Linked DNA regions of Homo sapiens: region 1 is linked to region 2. Evidence: promoter capture Hi-C in 16 types of primary human blood cells and fetal thymus (Javierre and others, 2016). All regions are on one chromosome and are shown on one strand. Each heading gives the region's core, a stretch centred on a gene start or on the middle of the fragment in contact. The rest is flanking DNA. Distances are from core to core; before and after follow the strand shown.

Region 1 (2,700 bases), core at 162-2,661, 120 kb before region 2:
AGCCTCCCAGGGTTCTGGGATTACAGATGTGAGCCACCGCACCCGGCTACCCCTTTCAACTCTTAAATTTCTTTGGAGCATACATACTAGAGGTTCAATATTTAGATGTTGTTTAAGTGGATGAAAATGTTTCCTCCTGGGTTCATAAGAGAAGCAGAGGGTACTAATCACCAGTGTGTTTTCCCCTTTGCAGAACTTTCACGATGGCCGTAAAGCACAGCAGCACATCGAGACTTGCTGGAAGCAGCTTGAATCTGTAAGTGAACAATGCACAGCAAAAGAAACGGCTTTATAGATTTTTTTTTCTTTTTTTTTGAGACGGAGGCTCCCTCTGTTGCCCAGGTTGGAGTGCAATGGTGCGATCTCGGCTCACTGTAACCTCTGCTTCCCAGGTTCAAGTGATTCTCCTGCCTCAGCCTCCCAAGTAGCTAAGATTACAGGCACACGTCACCATGCCCGGCTAATTTTTGTATTTTTGGTAGAGATGGGGTTTTGCCATGTTGGCCAGGGTGGTCTTGAACTCCTGCCCTGAAGTGATTCGCCCACCTCGGCCTCCCAAAGTTCTGGGATTACAGGCGTGAGCCACTGCACCCAGCCTAGGAAATGTCTTTATAGATTTTCCAGTTTCAATTTAATTTAAGCTTGAGTCAATCAGAAAGTAAAAAACATGCACATAAAAACACTAATGAAACATCTTTATAGATTTTTCTCATTTAATTTGTTTCTAGAACCATTATCTAAAGTTGAGCCAAAAGAGCTCAAGTTGAGTATTTTTCTAAAAGTCACGTGGAAATAATAAAGATTAGACAGTTTTGATGGAAATAAATGCAGATTTTAAAATAACTTCTAGAAATTATGACATATAAGAAATCAATTCAGAGAAGAGTATTCTTGGGCCAGACACATTGGCTCACGCCTGTAATCCCAGCAATTTGGGAGGCAGAGGCGGGAGGATTGCTTGAGCTCAGAAGCTCAAGACCAGCATGGGCAACATGACAAAACCTAGTCTCTACAAAAAAATGCAAAAATTAGCTGGGCATGGTGGTGCATGCCTGTAGTCACAGCAGCTAGTGAGGCTGAGGTGGGAGGATCACCTGAGCCGGGAAGGTCAAAGCTGCAGTGAGCCAAGATGGCGCCACTGCACTCCAGCCTGGGTGACAAAGTGAGACCCTGACTGAAGAAAAAAAAAAGAAAAAGAACAATGCTCTTTGGGAGCTTTAGATAAAATTACATCTTCTCGTAGGACTCTTATGGTTTCATAATTATTTTCCTCTGATTTTAGAGTAAAAGGCGATTTGAACGCGATTGCAAAGAGGCGGACAGGGCGCAGCAGTACTTTGAGAAAATGGACGCTGACATCAATGTCACAAAAGCGGATGTTGAAAAGGTGAGGTGAAAGCTCAAGTGTGGGCCGGGCACGGTGGCTCACGCCTGTAATCCCAGCACTTTGGGAGGCTGAGGTGAGCGGATCACCTGAGGCCAGGAGTTCGAGACCAGCCTGGCCAAGATGGTGAAACCCCATCTCTACGAAAAACACAAAAATTAGCTGAGTGCAGTGGCAGGCACCTATAATCCCAACTACTAGGGAGGCTGAGGCAGGAGAATCGCTTGAGCCCAGGAGGCGTTGGCTGCAGTGAGCCAAGATCACGCCACTGCACTCCAGCCTGGGTAACAAGAGCGAAACTATCGCCAAAAAAAAAAAAAGACAAAAGAAAGCTCAAGTGTGTCTTTCATTTCCCCTGTGAGTGTTCATCACCGACCACCCATCCCCAAGTTCTCATTTCTAATGTAGCCACAAAAGGCGCTACATGGGGAATCATTTTCATTTTGTGTCAACCATTGTGGGGACCAGAAGCTCAAGTGTGGGGAATCTTCGGTGTTAGAATTTGAGACGTTTTATCTGTTGAGTCACCAGGGTGATAAAGTGGAGACTTAGACTATGAACAGTCTGGGAACAACGTTCCAGAAGGTTGTGGCTCTTAATGGCTTTTCAAAGAGAAAGTCAATTTCTTGAGAGCCGGAGGAGACAGGACAGGGCCATCTGGAAGAGCTTGGCTGCTTATAATGGTTCCTTTAGAGCAATAGTCTCACTGCTTGCCTGACTTCTAATTGATTCCTCCTGGTTGATAACAGTGAGGTTGTAGTTGAAGCCTTGCATATTTCAGTCCTCTCAAAAGCTTTTCTCTAAATGGACTTGTATTGCCAACTAGAAATATTATAAAGTGTATACTGTTTCTCATTGTGGCTCAATATGCGTTTTTTCCCTAGAAGCTGAATTTTATTTTTATTAAAGTCATCAATACAATGTAAACAAAATTAGGCTTTTACATAACAAGGACTCATTCATGATGCCCATGGTTGTTTGGGCATTCATAGCTTCATGCTGTATGTGGGTGAAAGCACTGAGTTTTTATAGATTTGTTGAGCTTTTGACAGATCAGTTAGAGTTGAGTTTAGTTGGGAAATGGTGTGAACTATTATTTGCCAAATTCTGCCAAATTCCTTGCTTAAAGACTAGGTATACGTTAATATTAGTATGCCTTTCTCTAAAATTATTAAATATATTAAAATACATATTCTTGCCAGGTGCTGTGGCACATACCCCTAGACTCAGCTACTTAGGAGACTGAAGCAAGAGGATTGCTTGAGCCCAGGAGTCCAGACTGGGCAACATAACGAGACCCCATCTCAGGAGCAGGG
Region 2 (2,700 bases), core at 45-2,544:
ATCGGCCCCTCCCCCTAGCCAATGAGATGTAACAGCAGCTGCAGCAGCAGCAAACATCTACTGCACTCCTACCGTGCCAGGCCCTGTGCAAACCGTGCGGCAGAGACTGACCTGCAACCAATTCCTGTTCCACCTCCTAGCTGGGTAACTTGAGGCGTGCACTGCCCCTCGGAGACTCCGCATTCTCATTTGTAAAACGAAAAACAATCTACCTCAAAGGATTGCTGGGAGAATTCAATGAGATGATGCTTTGCCCAGGGCCTGCCACATAGTAACTGCTTAATAAGAGGTAGTTCTCAAAGTAAGGGATGACACTGAGAAAAGGAAAACTACTGTTACTTAAGGGGTTCTTAAAAGTCCTAGAAGCCATTATTTATGCATTTAGGTATTTCCTAAGCGTTTGCTGATACCAGTTTTTCAAATAAACTTTATCCTCACAGCATCTTCGGGGTGGAAGGGGCAGAGGGTAGAGCGACAGACCTGCCGAAGGAGGAAAACCAGACCCGTGAAGGTCCAGGGGGGTGGCCGGCAAGCACCGAGGAGGAGTCCCCCGGCTCAAACCCTCTTGCGTGGCTTCAAAACATCAGACGCGCCTCTCCTCGCGGAGAAGCTGGGGGCCATTATTTGTGAGGCAGTCGGCGCTGGGACTCTAAGTCAGCACCGCAGAGAAGTGGTCATCTTTTGTTCCGAAAGAAAAAAACGCACGTCAGGGCTCAGAGCCCGAGGAAAGAAAAGTCAGCGCCCGAGACGCGAGACGCCACGCGGATGCTTTCAACGCTAGGTCAGGCCCCGGCAGAAATGAGAGGGGGGCGGCCCCGGTTCTGGAGAAGCCACGAGCCCCCAGGGAGCTCAGAGTGGGGTGGTGCTGGGGCCCAGAGGCCCCCCTGGGCGCCGACCGGAGGAGGGGAGAGGGGCGGCGGCGGCCGGGGGGGTCCCGGGCTCCGCTCACCGGGCCGCTGCGTCTGGCGTACCTGGCGAAGCCAGGCCCTGTCAGCCCGGAGCCGGGCTGGGGTCGCCAATGCTCAGAGGCCCGGCCCACAGAAGCAGCCGGTGGCGGCCCGGAACTCACCTGCACTCGCAACTGCGCCGCCGCCGCCTGTCAGTCAAGCGCGCCCCCTCTGAGGCGACGCGCAGGGTTGTGGGGCCGTCTGGCGACGCCCCACCTCCTTCCCTCTGCCGTCCAATCGGAAGAGGCTGACGCCAGGAGAGGGGGCGTGGCCACGCGGACTGTGCGTGCCGGGGGCGGGGCCAGACGGGGCAGGCGCTCTGACCGCTCTGCCGCGCGCCGGAAGCAGCCTGGGCCGCTGCGCAGAGGCGCGGCGGCTGTACAACTCGGCCGTTGTCACCATGCCGGTCGTCCGGAAGATTTTCCGTCGCCGCCGGGGCGACTCGGAGTCAGAGGAAGATGAGCAGGACTCAGAGGAGGTTCGGTGCGTTTGGGGCGGGGCTCCCATAGGCTTGGTAAAGATAGACTTGTTTGGGGGACTCACCACCGGCTCGGCGCTTCGCTGACATTGTTAACTGTGAGCTCGGGTGGTGGTTCCTTCTGCGGACGCAGAAATTGAGGCTCAAGGGGTGAGGCCACCGCCCCAAGCTCGAACGGTTGAGAGAGATGCCTCCGGGATGCGCAGTGGCTCTGACTCCCGGTGGGTCTAGGCACAAGGTCGTCCTCTGGACCACTGTGCTGGTGGCTCAGTAGCTGGGCTGGGATGCCCTCGAAGGTGCCTTATTGGCTCTGTTAGCTTTGGATTCCGCGGGGAATCACTCAGCTTATGCATTGCTGCTTCTTCTTCTTTTTAAAGATTAAAACTGGAAGAGACCAGAGAGGTACAGAACTTGAGGAAGAGGCCCAACGGGGTGAGGTGGGTACCACGCGGGGAGGAGGAGGAGGCGGCGGGGACGACAGACACATCCGCGTCCGGGTCGCTGTCACAAATATCTCCTCAGACGTAGATTTTTCTCTTGACACACTGTACACCTTCCACTGCCCAACTTGGAGAACAGCGTTCTTTGCAAATGTTTAACCAGGACATGCCCTGAGCTGTGTCGTCTCGGGGTGTGCTCCAGAGATACAGAAACAGATCACTAACTCGCGTTTTTTATTAAAACCAATTAATTGTGAAATGCATATCGATCGTTAAGAGTTTGTATAATTTAGAAAAGTATAGTCAAGACGATAAAAAGCACCCATAATTCTCCCATCCGGAAATGATCAGTGTTAACATTTTTTTTCCTTGCAGAGCCACCCAAGAATGCACTGGTATTAATATTGAATACTCTTTCCAATCTGTTTTTTTTCGTCTCTCTCTCTCAGATTGTGAACAACTTTCTATGTACTTTTATTCCCTGTTCTTTTCAACTCATTATGACATTGTGGGCATTCACCCATATTGTGGAATATTTTTCAGAAAGCCTTAATGGCTGCATAATATTCCACCAGATGTGTGTATTGTAATTTGTTAACAAATCCCCTATTTTGGGACATGTAGGTGATTTTGTAAATTTTTACTATCAAATAAGGCTGCAGTGGATATTCTCTTAAATTTATCTTTAGCTGCACTTTCCATGATGAGAATATCTTAGAAATGAGATTTCCAGGCCAAGATAATGCCAAATGGCTTTACAGGAAAGTGGCAAAGTGTACCACTTCACCACCAGCGCACCCTTCTTCCAGCATCTGCGGTGCTCGTTGAGCCCTGT

The links. The method cuts DNA at HindIII sites, captures the fragments that hold promoters and counts their contacts. A CHiCAGO score of 5 or more calls a contact.
Region 1: a fragment that was not itself captured here is called in contact with the fragment with the promoter of C9orf78 in region 2 in 2 of 17 cell types (total CD8 T cells and naive CD4 T cells); the score reaches 5.5 in total CD8 T cells.

What each region holds. Positions count from the first base shown.
Region 1 is chr9:129,956,047-129,958,746 of GRCh38, reverse strand. FNBP1 (formin binding protein 1) reads left to right here. Exons shown (of 17, transcript NM_015033.3): 5 at 194-256; 6 at 1,283-1,387. Among named protein-coding and RNA genes, the nearest start is that of FNBP1, 86 kb to the left of the region's middle. The HindIII fragment of the contact is 1,536 bases long and covers 644-2,179 here.
Region 2 is chr9:129,833,869-129,836,568 of GRCh38, reverse strand. C9orf78 (chromosome 9 open reading frame 78) reads left to right here and starts at 1,294. Exons shown (of 9, transcript NM_016520.3): 1 at 1,294-1,430; 2 at 1,803-1,862. The coding sequence starts at 1,348. It overlaps USP20 (ubiquitin specific peptidase 20), which reads right to left and starts at 1,111. Exons shown (of 26, transcript NM_001110303.4): 1 at 1,070-1,111. RefSeq lists an enhancer at 361-861 and silencers at 833-982, 1,013-1,362. The HindIII fragment of the contact is 4,419 bases long and covers 1-2,700 here.